Regions from separate parts of the Homo sapiens genome. Here region 2 is linked to region 1. Evidence: promoter capture Hi-C in 16 types of primary human blood cells and fetal thymus (Javierre and others, 2016). All regions are on one chromosome and are shown on one strand. Each heading gives the region's core, a stretch centred on a gene start or on the middle of the fragment in contact. The rest is flanking DNA. Distances are from core to core; before and after follow the strand shown.

Region 1 (6,753 bases), core at 2,359-4,858:
GAACAAGCCTAGGCTTGCCTGCTAGGGATAAGAGACATATGGCCCAGCCACCTCTGCCAAAAGCCAACCAACTACCAACCAACTTTCAGAAACACAGCCATCCAGTTGACTAGCAGCTGACCACACATGCATGAACAAGTTCAGTCAAGACCAGCAGAAGAACCACTGTGCTGAGCCCAACCTAAATTGTCATCTCACCAAATTCTGAGTTGAATAAATTTAAGTGATGTTTTAGTTTTAAGCTCTTGAGTTTTGGGTTGATTTTTATTTAGCAAAAGCTAACTGGTATATACATTTCTCTTTAAAGCCCTCAGAGTCCTGGAGAAGGCCCTGGGATACCTCCAGCTTGATAGTCAGATTGCCCTGCAGACACAGCCAGACCTCCCCTTACCACCCTTTCAACAGGTCCCTCAGACAGCCTTCTCACAATGTGCTGAGTCCTGACTTATATCCTCTGCAGAACAGGAGATACTGACCATACTGCCTCTCCACCTCTCAGTGCTCCAGCTGACGAAAGCCCTGGCTCTCACCCATTCCCGAACACCATGGGATACAAACCATTAATCCCTGTTGTTTTTGGGTCCCCAAGATGTACAGGCTGCCATCTGCTGGGTCAGAGAGAAAGGCCATTCTGTGGAGCAGAGAGAAACAAGGAGACCAATGGGTTCTTGCCCCCTGGTTTCATGAAGGCCCCAAATTCCTTCCAATTTCTCAGCTACTAGGAGCCTGTTCTTGTAGGAAACATCATGGGGCTCCAAGACCCTCCCCTATATCACATCCAGAGCCAATTCTCTTCCCTTACTTCCAACATGTCCCTGCCCCACATACAAACTCTCTCCAGACAACTATGAGTCCCCCATCTCCCAGAAGCCTCCTCCTTAAAAGGCCCCAGGTTCACTTACTCTGTGACGTACATTGGTCCTTCGATGACGGGATCTGCAGGGACAGGGACACAGAACATAAGCAGTTTCCTCCAGACCCCACTGAAAAGCACAGCTCATATTCACTGAGCTATGGCATGACTGTGATGTCAAGCACTTGGTGTGAATGTAATGCCATCTTCCCAAAAACTCTGTCAGATAGGGTCATATCCTTTGCCCCATTTTATAGATGAGGATGTTGAGGATCAGAGAGGTAAGGTGGGTTTCTCAAGGCCACACAGCTGGTAAGCAGTGAAGCTGCCTGTAGATACCAGCTTATTGGATTCTAGAGCCCATGTTCTTATTCTCTATGCCACAGTGACTATCCCTTCACCAATCTATGGGCCCAAGGAGGGAGGAGGGACCACCTCTTGCTCACCATCCCTCAGAGTCCACTTCAGGTCCCCTGTCTGCTTGCTTAGTGCGTGGAGACTTCCATCCAAGGTGGACACCAGCAGGAGGTTCTCTGGCCTGAGAGTATGAACCTGCAAGGGGGTAGAGACAAAGTCAGCTCTCTGAGGGGTCTGGGACCACCCTTTGCTCCTGTCCCAAGCAGGGCTGGCCATGACTCCCCTTCCCCCAGATGGGGATGCAGCAGGGGAGGAAGGGTGATTGGGGAACGTGCTGGTGTCACTCATCATCTCTTTGACCCTAGAGAAGGGTTATAGTGGAAGCTGGGGGGTTCTGAGGGGAGGTTTTGGCTCCCAATGTATCTAAATTCCCAATTACTTACCTCCTTCCTCAATTCATTCTGGTTTTCCAAAGAAGACTAAAGGCCTTTACAAAATGACTTCATTGTTTGTTTTGTTTCTTTTTGTTATTGTTCTTGTTGTTTTAATATAAGACAGGGTCTTGCTCTATTGCCCAGGCTGGAATGAAGTGGCATAGTCATAGCTCACTGTGGCCTCAAACCCCTGGGCTCAGCTGATCCTCACACCTCAGCCTCCCAAGTAGTTGGGACTACGGGTGTCTGTCATCACACCTGGCTAATTTTTGTATTTTTTTGTAGAGATGGGGTCTTGCTATGTTGTCTAGGCTGGTCTGGAACTCCTGGCCTCAAGCGATCCTCCTGCCTCAGCCTCCCAAAGTATTGGGATTACAAGCATGAGCCACTGCACCCATTCTAAGACTGGTATTATTAGTTTTCCCATTCTACAGAGGAGGGAGACTGAGGCTCAGGAAAGTTAGGTCATTGGTTAGGTCATTGGCATAAAGCCACAGAGATAATAAGTGGCAAAACTAAGGACTTGAGTTGCCATCCCTCTGATTCCTATGCCTGGCCTCTTTTTCCTCTGCCACAATGTCTACCTCTTTTGGGATGCCCCTTTCTGCCTCCCCAAACCAGCCCAGCTGGTTTTGGTGCCAGGCTCCAGTGGGTCCCTTGACCCAAGGCTGGGGGGTGCCCTTGGGAGGGGGGCTGGAGCCACCCGTACTTACATCTGGCGATCCTGGGCTCACTCACCTGCTCCAGTCCCTCCTTGAGCAAACAGGGTGAGGCTGAGCTCCCAGCAGGAGGCCTAACATCCGGGTGGCCCAGCCGCACCCCTACAAAGGCCACATCCTGCTTCAGGACCCTCAGGTTTGGGGCTGGGCCACTGGTGTTGAGTGGAGGGTCAGGAAATTATCTGCTAGCCCCTCTTTCTTTCTGGGCTTCAATTTTGTCATCTGCAGCATGGCAGGAGGGAGAACGGTTTGGAGAAGAGGCTGCAGATTGGTTGCCCAGAAATGAATTTTGTTTGACCATCTAGTGCTTAAAAATTTTTCAATTAGCTGCCAATTTTTTTAAAAATTGGATGATTTCTACAAAAAAACCAAGATTTCAAATCTTTCTCATTTCTAATTTTTCCAGAGACATCCGATCTGGCCACACTGGGCTTGCATTCTTAGCTGGCAACCATGAGGTGGACCCATGAGGTGGAAGCCGGGAATGAGAGGTGCCTAACTCTACCTGATCGCTTTTGCCCCATGGGGGTTCTAGGCGGGACACCTGGATTCTTAGGCCAGGCGACTTTTGCCTCCTGGCTGCATTTCTGTAAGACTCTGCTATTCCTGGCACCGTGGGAGCAGATACTGACACTCCCAGCTCATTTATCCCATAGGTTCTGAACCTGGGGTGCAGCCATGGGTAAGGGGACCGTATTGTAAAGCCTCTGAAATTGCAAAACTGGGCGTGCAGGCTCATTTCTCAGCAGAGGGCCCTGAAGTCAATCATATTTTCAAAGGAAGCCAGGATTCCCAGAAGTTTTAAGAGGCCTGGCTTTCGTGCCCAGGTGCCCCCCTACCCCAGACTACACCTCTCCCTGCTGAAGAGGCGGGGTGCTCTGTCTACTCTTGCCTTTCCACGCTGGCAGATCTCCCCAGCTAGGTATTTGTTGGGGGCAACTGGCGGCTCCCCAAACCCAGGAGGCTTTTACTCCGTTGGGGCCGAGTTGGGACCACCCAGGCGTGAGGGAGGGAGAGGTGCCCCCGTGGCCCCGCCGCGCCCTCGCCCCAAGTGCGACGCCGCCCCCTGCGCCCCGCGACCAGACTTTGGGGACTTGGCGTCGGTCCCTGGCTCTCACCTGTGGACTCAGCGTCCCGAGCAGCAGCGCCGCGAACTGGAGCTGGAGCCCCAGCCGGGGCCACGGCCTCGACCCCCTGACCGCACTCGCCATAGCGCCTGGGCAGCTGCACGGCTGGCCAGGTCCCTGGGTGCCTCCAAGGGAGCGCTCTGTCCCCGCCCGACCCGGAGAAGGCTCCGCCCCTGGCTGGGCCTGCAACCCCAGCCTGGAGTCCTCGCCGATCCCCGCCCTTCTCATCACACTCCCAGCCGCATCCTCGCGTCCCAGTCACCCCACCAAACACGGTGGGGCGCTTTCCCGGGAGAGGGATTTTACTGAGCCCACTTATGGAGAACTTGCCACGTGCCGAGGACCGTGCCGGTTCATCATCAGTTCCTGGAGTCCTCACTGCACAGCAGGTACAAGCGGAGGCTGAGAGCCGCAGTCCCAATACAGATCCGCCTGATCTCAAAGCCTGCGCTCTTTATCATTGCACCAGCGGATCCCGGTGGGCTATCAGGAAATAGCGATTAATTGGTGAATTCAGTCGTTCGTTCAATAAATATTTATTATGGGTCAGGTAAGTGGCTCACCTCTGTAATCCCAGCACTTTGGGAGGCCTAGGAGGGAGGATCACTTGAAACCAGGAGTTGGAGACCAGCAACATAGTGAGACCCCATCTCTACAAAAAAAAATGGCCAGGTGTGGTGATGTCCACCTGTAGTTCCAGCTACTCGCGAGGCTGAGGTGGGAGGATTGCTTGAGCCAGGAAGTCAAGGCTGCAGTGAGCTATAACTGTGCCATTGCACTCCAGCCTGGGCGACAGAGAGAGACACACTCTCCAAAAATAAAATAAATAAATAAATATGCATGTATTTATTTTTTGAGACAGAGTCGATCTTGTCACCCAGGCTGGAGTGCAATGGCACTATCTTGGCTAACTGCAACCTTTGCATCCTGGGTCCAAGCAATCCTCCTCCCGAGTAGCTGGGATTAAAAATGTGGGCCAACATGCCCAGCTAATTTCTGTATTTTTAGTAGAGATGGGGCTTCACCACTTTGGCCAGGCTGGTCTCAAACTCCTGACCTCAGTTGATCCGCTCACCTCGTCCTCCCAAAGTGCTGGGATTACAGGCATAAGCCACCGCGCCCAGCCAATAAATATGCATTTATTATAAGCTATGACATGCCTGCCTGATGAACAAGATGATGAGGTCCCTGTCTTCGTAGAGCTTAGAGATTCCTATGCCTTAGATGTAAGACAACTCCGCATGGAAGGGCACCTTCTAATGGCCGTGACCACCCTTGCTCCTGGTAGATGTCTCCAGTTTTGTTCAGAGAGGGTCTGCCAGGGTCCTTGAAGGTAAGGTCCACCCTGTTTGCAAGTTTCAACTCATTCATGTCTCCTTCATCCTTGTGTAAAAATAAAAAAAAAAAAATCCCTGCTGATTTGAGGGTCATGCAGCCCAGCTCTGCCACCTTCTCCCCGTCCTCTTTGTCATCCTTGGCCCTCCTGGTCATCCCCTCACAGTTACTGAAAACTTGGTAGCTTGGCCCCTAGCCTTCATCTCCATCACAAATCCTGCCACTCTCCTTGGTGTCTTCAATGTCCAAGGTACAGCTTAGCCAGCATTGCAGCCTCTCAGTGGGTGTACCTCTTTGGAGACCTTATCCCCCACGCCACAACTGCACTGGGCCCTTGTCACACTCAGAACCACTTTAGTTCCAATGTCCCTTTCTCTGATTGCAGCCTCCTCTCCATGCAACGGTTTCACCCTTTCATTCTCCTTATCCCTGTGCCCTGACCTACACGGTACCTTCATCCCTCAGTCTCTCTTCCACTCTGTCAGCCCCTTCCTTGTCCTTATCCTGCTTGGACCTCCTAGCTGACCATCTGAAGGAACTACACCACTGTCTTAGGCTGGGTTGAAACAGGTTGGGATTTTTGTGAAAGTTATTTCACACTAAGCCATACCAGGTTCAGAAGTTCAAGAGCAGCCTGGGCAACATAGCAAGACCTCAGTCTCTACAAAAAATAAAAAATAAGCCAGGCACGCTGGTGTGCACTAGTAGCCCCAGCTACTTGGGAGGCTGAGGTAGGAGGATCCCTTGATTCCAGGAGATCCAGGCTGCAGGTAGCACCACTGCTCTCCAGCCTGGGCAACAGAGTGAGACCCTGTCTCTAAAAAACAAAACAGGCTGGGCGCGGTGGCTCATGCATGTAATCTCAGCACTTTGGGAGGTCGAGGTGGGTGGATCACCTGAGGTCAGCAGTTTGAGACCAGCCTGGCCAACATGGTGAAACCCTGTCTCTACTAAAAATACCAAAATTAGCCGGGCGTGATGGCGCATGCCTGTAATTCCAGCTACTTGGGAGACTGAGGCAGGAGAATTGCTTGAACCCAGGAGGTGGAGGCTGCCGTGAGCCATGATCGTGCCATTGCACTCCAGCCTGGGCAACAGAGTGAGACTTTGTCTCAAAATAAATAAATAAATAAAAAACAAGACAAAACAAAACAAAAACAAAGAAATATGTACATTATGAAGTCTTTAGTTTACTTGGTTGCTCTTTCATGCTTAGCTGTTCCAACACCCCTAAATTGGCCCAGTACTCCTAACTTTATAACAAAAGTGATTGTTTGCCATTGTAGAACCTAACCCAAGCTATTGAGTGTGTGAATGAACCCTCCTTTCTGCTCTATATTTTGTACACTCTGCATTGTTTTGAAATGTACATTGTGTTTACTATGCTTGGATTCAGGCATTTCTCATGCAAAAAATTTGACTTGCATAAAATACAAACTGCAAATGAACTGGAATAAATTGTGTGTGTGTGTGTGTGTGTGTGTAATGATAAAAGCAATATACATTCTAGAAACTTTGTAAAATTCAGAAAAATTTAAATAAGAAAATATCTGGACAGGTGTGGTGGCTCACACCTGTAGTCCCAGCTACTCAGGAGGCTGAGGTGGGAGGATCACTTGAGCCTAGGAGCTGGAGGCTGCAGTTAGCTGTGACTGCACCACTGCACTCCAGCCTGGGCTAAAGAGCAAGACACTATCTCAAAAATATTAATAATAATCAGCTGGGTGCAGGGGCTCATCCTGTAATCTCAGCACTTTGGGAGGCTGAGGTGGGTGAATCACTTGAGGTCAGGAGTTCAAGACCAGCCTGGCCAACATGGTGAAACCCTGTCTCTACTAAAAATACAAACATTAGCAGGGCGTAGTGGCACATGCCTGTAATCCCAGCTACACAGGAGGCTGAGGCAGGAGAATTGCTTGAACTCGGGA
Region 2 (6,753 bases), core at 1,246-3,745, 330 kb after region 1:
AGAGGTCAAAGGTTTTCTAACTTGCCTGGCTACTGAAATTGAGCTCATATATCTGTTCTTAGTGTTTTGGCAGGTCAAGATGAGAATAAATCTGATCAGTTCTCCTCCTTTTAAAAACCCATCAATGGTTTCCCATTGTCTTTATAACAGACTAAATCTAACATGGCGATCTCATTCTTTATTCACTGTCTCCTCCCCCTTTCTTTTAATCCTTGGTCCTCTGCAGACTGCCACACACCATAAGACATCTGTGCGTTCTGTTTAGAATGTTTGCCATTGCCATCTTCTCTTTTTCTAGCAATTAACTCTTCCTCTCGATCTCGGTTCATTTTTACCATCTAATAAGCTTCCTCCAACTTCCCCCTTTCGTAGACACTCATGGTAACCTGAGCTTGGCCTTGTGAAAGGGGTGATTTTATGTTGGATTTGATTAATGTCTGCATCTCATCACAAGGCATTAGCTCCATGAGGGCGGGACTGTGTCTTGCCACTCTACTCCCAGCACCTAGCAAGGTGGGCATCACTAAATATTTATGGGCTCAATGGCTGTATGTATGAATGAGAAACCCCTGGAGGATCCTGATAGATAGATATAAGGCTTTCACTGATGGTCCCCAGATCAGTGCCTCCTAAAGTCAGGAAATGAAGGTCAACGGATTGTCCAATTTATACCATTATTCTCATGGGAGGTAGAACATGCAGAAAATCTTAAGTACCAGGTCCAACGTCAACAGCAAATGTTACTGGGACTGAGACCCGCTTGTTGGAGTCATGACCACCCTTGTTCCCTGGACAATGTAGAAAAGACATGGAGCAGTGGGATTTGTAGTATCCCAGGAAACCGTATTGACATCATGATGCCCATAGGTGTCATGAGATCAGGCAATACAATGTCCAGATCAGAGTTGTAAAATGCTCCCAAGGTTTGTGAAGCCTGCGTGTTCATACATGCAACAATAATTTTTTTTGTGTGTGTGTGACAGAGTCTTGCTGTCACCCAGGCTGGAGTGCAGTGGTGCAATCTCAGCTCACTGCAACCTCCCCCTCCCAGGTTCAAGCCATTCTCCTGCCTCAGCCTCCCGAGTAGCTGCGACTACAGGCGCATGCCACCATGGCCGGCTAATTTTTTTTTGTATTTTTGGTAGAGATGGAGTTTCACTGTGTTAGCCAGGATGGTCTCGATCTCCTGACCTCATGATTTGCCCACCTCAGCCTCCCAAAGGGCTGGGATTACAGGCGTGAGCCACCGCACCCAGCTAACAATATCTTATTCAATGCTTTTTCAATTCAGTATCTACCTATCAACATAACAACTGACATCTATTATTTATACTCCCATCTACATTACAGCCACCTCCAAATGCTTAGCCATGTCCATCCTCATATCTATCTCCCAAAAGTTGGGAGTGTTCTTAAAGAAAGCAGAAAGAACCTTTTTTTTTTTAAATGTTTCTCTTTGGAACTCCCATTCTATATTCTTACCATTATATTGTGTTATACAGAAACTTTTTAGACTGAAACATCTCCCTGACAGCCTTAGGTACTCCCAATATTGTGATATTTAAATCCTTCTTAAGATCTGACATCCACACATCAAAAGAAAAAGAGTACCAAAGAGGCTGAGTGTGGTGGCTCACGTCGGTAATCCCAGCATTTTGGGAGGCTGAGGCGGCTGTATCACCTACAGTCAGGAGTTCAAGACCAACGTGACAAAACCCTGTCTCTACTAAAAATACAAAAATTAGCCAGGTGTGGTGGTGGATGCCTGTAATCCCAGCTACTCAGGAGGCTGAGACAGGAGAATCGCTTGGACCCAGGAGGCAGAGGTTGCAGTGAGCTGAGATTGCATCACAGCACTCCAGCCTGGGTAACAGAGTGAGACTCCATCTTGGAAAAAAAAAAAAAAAAGAATTGGGAAGAAAAAGGGCAATGTAAACAAGAAAAAAAAATCCAGATAGCTTAATATTTATTTTTGTTTAACTTTTATTTGAACTTTGGTGGGGGGGTACGTGTGCAGGTTTGTTATATAGGTAAACTTGTGTCATGGGGGTTTGTGTAATATTGCCCAGCCATGCGTCAATTGCAGACAGAAAATTATTATAAACTAGGCCGCGAGGGCCCACTAGGGGGCAGTCTCTGCCTTCAAAGCCATTCCTCCTCGGAGGCTCTCTCAGGAGATGCCCCAATTTGTGAAACCACAGTACTGTCATTGCTCATAATGGAAGGTGCAGCAGAGACCAGCTACGCTCACTGAGGTCCAGAGAAAGGTTACTTCTTCAGGTCACACACAGATAGGGCCCAGTTCTGGTAGATCTCCCTTCCCTTTTACATTATTGGTTTGTAATTTTTTCCCAAGTCTTTATTTTGAACTAAGTTGAAAGAATTTTACAGCAAACACTCATTTATCCACCACCTATATTCTGTCGTTAACGTTTCCACACTTGCTTAATCACATTTCCAACTATCTCGCTCTCCATCCATCAATCTGTCTTATTTTTGACACATTTCAAAGTAAACTGCAGACACCAATTCGATTTCCCCCAAACACTTCAGCATGCCCAACATCAATAGAATTCAAAATTTACTTGTAGGGTTTCTTTTTTTTTTTTAACTTTTGAGGTGAAATGTACATACAATGATACATACAAAATTTTTTTTTTTTTTGAGACAGTCTCACTTTGTCACCCAAGCTGGAGTGTAGTGGCGTAATCACGGCTTACTGCAGCCTCGACCTCCCAGGCTCAATTGATTCTCCCACCTCAGCCTACAAAGTAGCTGGGACTACAGGCATGAGCCACCACACTCAGCTAATTTTTGTAGTTTTGTAGAGATGGGGTTTTGCCATGTTGCCTAGGCTGGTCTTGAACTCCATGGTTCAAGCAATCCTCCCACTTTGGCCTCCCAAAGCGCTGGGATTATAGATGTGAGCCACTGTGCCCGGTGATGTCTTAAGTGTACAATGGCTGAGTTTTGACAAATGCATATGACTGTCATTCTAACCCTTATCAAATTAATTCTCTTTTTTGATGTCACAGCTGCTGTTGAGGATCCAAGGGAAGGTATGAACCAGAGAAATGCCTTTATGTCCCCACACACTGCACTCATACTCATGAGCTCTGGCTATTGGGATGTCTATTATACCTAAAATCCCTTAGATGACATGAAACTTAATAGTTGTTCAATTTTTTTTGTTTGTTTTTTGAGGAGTTATAATGCAGTAAAGTAGAAACTTTGAAAATTGGAAATTCTTGTTTACAATTTTTTGTTATGTATTCATTGAAGAGCAAAATGCCTTTAAAAACTCAATACACCTGCTTTATTTTGCTTTTTTTTTAGTATTGTTGTAATGAAGAAGTTCAGTTAAATCATATCTGTCTATGGAACATCTATCATCTTTCTCAGTGTATTACTGATAGTTGTCTGCACACCCCATGAGGCCAGGGGAAGGGTCTCTTGCCCATCCTTCCTTCAAAGCCTATCAGCTTGTTAGGTTGAGGTGAGTGTCTCAGGCACTGAAGTTTTGGGATACTGGACCTAAGGAGATGTAGGGAAGCTGACGTCTTGCTATTCAGTGTTCCTTCTCTTCTTCCCTGGTCATTTAAGTCTCATGAGAATTATCAAGGCCAGGCCAGCGTCTGAGGCCTTCAGGATGTGCTGGGCGCGGTCATTGCTCCCAAATGTCTAGGGAATTGCATTGAAGTGGGCACTGCTGGGACCTGCAGGGCTGTGACTTGTGACTGCCTTTGGGGACAGTGGTCCAGCAATGTCTATTAAAATATGTATACATATGAACATTTTGACTCTCACGTTTTCCTTTAGGGAATCTATTCTCTTAAAATGAAACACCAGCGTGCAAAGAAATAAAATCTAGAACAAGCATGTTTATTGATGTTTTCTTTGAGATGCAAAGAAAACATCAGCCTAATGAAGGGGTACCCATTTTATGTGATACTAGGTAGTTGTTGAAAGCATTGAATTAGGCCAGGCGCGGTGGCTCACACCTGTAATCCCAGCACTTTGGGAGGCTGAGGAGGGTGGATCACTTGAGGCCAGGAGTTCCAAACCAGTCTGGCCAACATGGTGAAACCCCGTCTCTACTAAAAAAAATCCAAAAAATTAGCTGGGTATGGTGGTGCATGCCTGTAATCCCACCTGCTCTGGAGGGTGAGACACGAGAATCACTTGAACCCTGCAGGTGGAGTTTGCAGTGAACAGAGATCAGGTCATTCATGCACTACAGCCTGGGTGATAGAGTAAGACTCTGTCTCAAAAAAAAGAAAAGAAAAGACTGAATTAAAATGAGAAAATGAGTATAATTTTTGACATGGGAACTGGTTACACAGGTGAATTTCCTTTGTGAGAATTCAAGCTGTAAGATTATGATTTATACACTTTTCTATAGGTATATTATACTTCCTATACTTTTATTATTTAAAAGTTTGTGATAAAAATTCTAAATAACTAAAAACAAAACACCAATGGGTTAGAGCTACAGATATTGGTGTAAAGCAGAGGTTGCCAAACTGGCCTGCTGCCTGTTTTTATAAATAAAGTTTTATTGGAACACAGCCACATCCATTCATTTATATATTATCTATGGCTGCTCTTGTGATACAATGGCAGAGTTCACTGCGTAGTTGTGACAAAGCTTGTACAATCTGCAAAATGTAAAATATTTGTTCTCTGGCCTTTACTGAAAACATTTGGCAGTCCTTGAACTAGAGGAACATCTATGGTTAAGTGAAAGGGTTAGGTTGCGTAAAAATATATTTAGTATGATCTCATTTTGAAGAAATAAGCAACAGCAACAGACACCTCCTATGTGTGAAGTTTTGTCTGTATATTTTATAACCTGTGTGTGAAGAAAGGTGTGGAAGGATACCAACCAGGTTGTAAACACTGGGATCGCAGCAGGATTGGGAGTGAAGAGGCTGTGGCGGTGAGGGGGATTGTGTTGTGTCTCTGTAGTTTTCATTACGTTTCACAGGTTGATTGCAATACATATCATTTCCGCAATTTTTGAAAAATAAAAACAGAAAAATCTCCAAATAGGAAAAATGAACAGAAATAAATTGTCTCAACAACAATAGCAGAAAAAAAAAATGAATGGATAATGCCCCAAATGATGGGGTGTTGGTTGCTTGAGGAGGGTTGTTGGGTGGTTCTCAGCTTGAGCAGAGCTGGGCCCAGGCCCTGTCTGGGTATTTTTGAGTTTTTATTGTCACTAGCTTCCATCTTGTGTAGCATCTGCCTTGTGAGCTGGGCCTGTTCTCCGAGTTTCATGGTGTTTGATGTTTTTTGCCTTCTTTCAGCAAGGTCGCTGGCATCATCCTTGCTGAGTCGCATATGTTCTGGGAACCACCTCCTCTTCTCTGTGCCTCTCGCCTGGCAGGTCTACGCTAAACTGCCCCCTGCCCTCCCAGGCCCACCCCACCTCCAAGTCTGAGTTCTTTGACTTAAACTTCAATCCTGTTTCCCATGGGCTGTGGCTTCCCAACCCTCAGTTTCAGTTGAAGCTAATTTTTTTTTCCAGAAATCACTGTGGGCCCTGGCTGCTCTGGGTGTGGTCTGGGGACCAGCTGCATCCCATCGGCATTACCTGGGAGCTCGTTAGCAATTCGGGATCTCAGCTTCCCCTCCAGGCCTGCTGAATCAGAATCTGCAATTTAACAACATCCCCTGGGGATGCACTGTAACATTCGAGCAGCCCTGCTGCAGAGGATCGCAGTGAGACGGGAAGAATGTGTCTTTTCCACTAGATGGCAGGCCTTACCTGCGCTTGGCTCCTGCGCAGACCACCACAGGTGGATGTGCCAGGGGTGATGTGAACCTCCAGCCCCGCGTTGGCCATGGCATCTTACCAGTCATGAAGCTCGGGTGTCAGTCCCGCCAGGGCTGGAATCCTCTTTCATTGGTGACCTGCACCTACCTGCATGTCCTGGCCTGGTGCAGCATGAGCTTCTGGCTTGAGCCATTTGTGTAAAGTGACCCAGAGCCTTTCTTTCTTCCCTGCTTTGCCTTTGTCCTCTACCACCTGGAAGGTGAAGGCATGTCTCTGGGGAGCTTCCTAGTCATTAGCCTCTGTGTTGCTTTTCTGGATGGCTTGCTGCACGTCTCTGCTAATTTTAGGCCAATGTGGTCTATGATTACAAAGGTTTTGCATGGGCTTTGGAGTCAGGCCTGGGTTTGAATCCTGCCTTTCCCACTCCTCCAACAAGTATTTGTTGGGGGCCTCCCATGTGCTGGGCACTGCTTACAGGCAAGGCCCCTGTGCTCATGGCCTCTGCCTTCTTTCTAATGATGGGAGATGAAGAGGAAGCAAACAAAACACTTTGAGAAAACAAGGAACACTATCAAGGAAATAAAATAAAGCGGCATGATGTGATAGAGGGTGGCCAGTGGGCTGAGTGTGATTAGCAGGGATAATGGCATTTAGTTGAGACCTCAGGGACCAGCAGGAGGGAGCCAGCTTGCTGAAAATTCCAGGGAAGAGTATACCAGGCAGAGGGAGCGGCAGAGGCAGAGGCCAGAGGGAAGAGTGAAGCAGCAGGCTTGTGAGTGACAGGAACTGACAGCCAGTGGGTGTGACTGGAGCCTCGGGATGGGGAGGGGTGGGTGACGCTGGAGGAAAGGCAGGGACAGCCAGTTAGGCTTTGTGAGCCCCATGGTGGGCTTGGTTTCTTTCTAAGTGCATGGAAATTTAGATCCCAGGAGTATCTGAAGGACATCATGCAAGGTCAGTGTGTTTAGGCC

Evidence for each region. The method cuts DNA at HindIII sites, captures the fragments that hold promoters and counts their contacts. A CHiCAGO score of 5 or more calls a contact.
Region 2: a contact is called between a fragment that was not itself captured here and the fragment with the promoter of ERN2 in region 1, in 2 of 17 cell types (erythroblasts and M1 macrophages). The highest score is 5.9, in erythroblasts.

What each region holds. Positions count from the first base shown.
Region 1 is chr16:23,709,614-23,716,366 of GRCh38, forward strand. It overlaps ERN2 (endoplasmic reticulum to nucleus signaling 2), which reads right to left and starts at 3,609. Exons shown (of 22, transcript NM_033266.4): 1 at 3,482-3,609; 2 at 1,300-1,405; 3 at 903-936; 4 at 559-631. The coding sequence starts at 3,574. The HindIII fragment of the contact is 14,517 bases long and covers 1-6,753 here.
Region 2 is chr16:24,040,094-24,046,846 of GRCh38, forward strand. All of the region lies in intron 5 of PRKCB (protein kinase C beta), which reads left to right. Among named protein-coding and RNA genes, the nearest start is that of MIR1273H, 160 kb to the right of the region's middle. The HindIII fragment of the contact is 4,302 bases long and covers 345-4,646 here.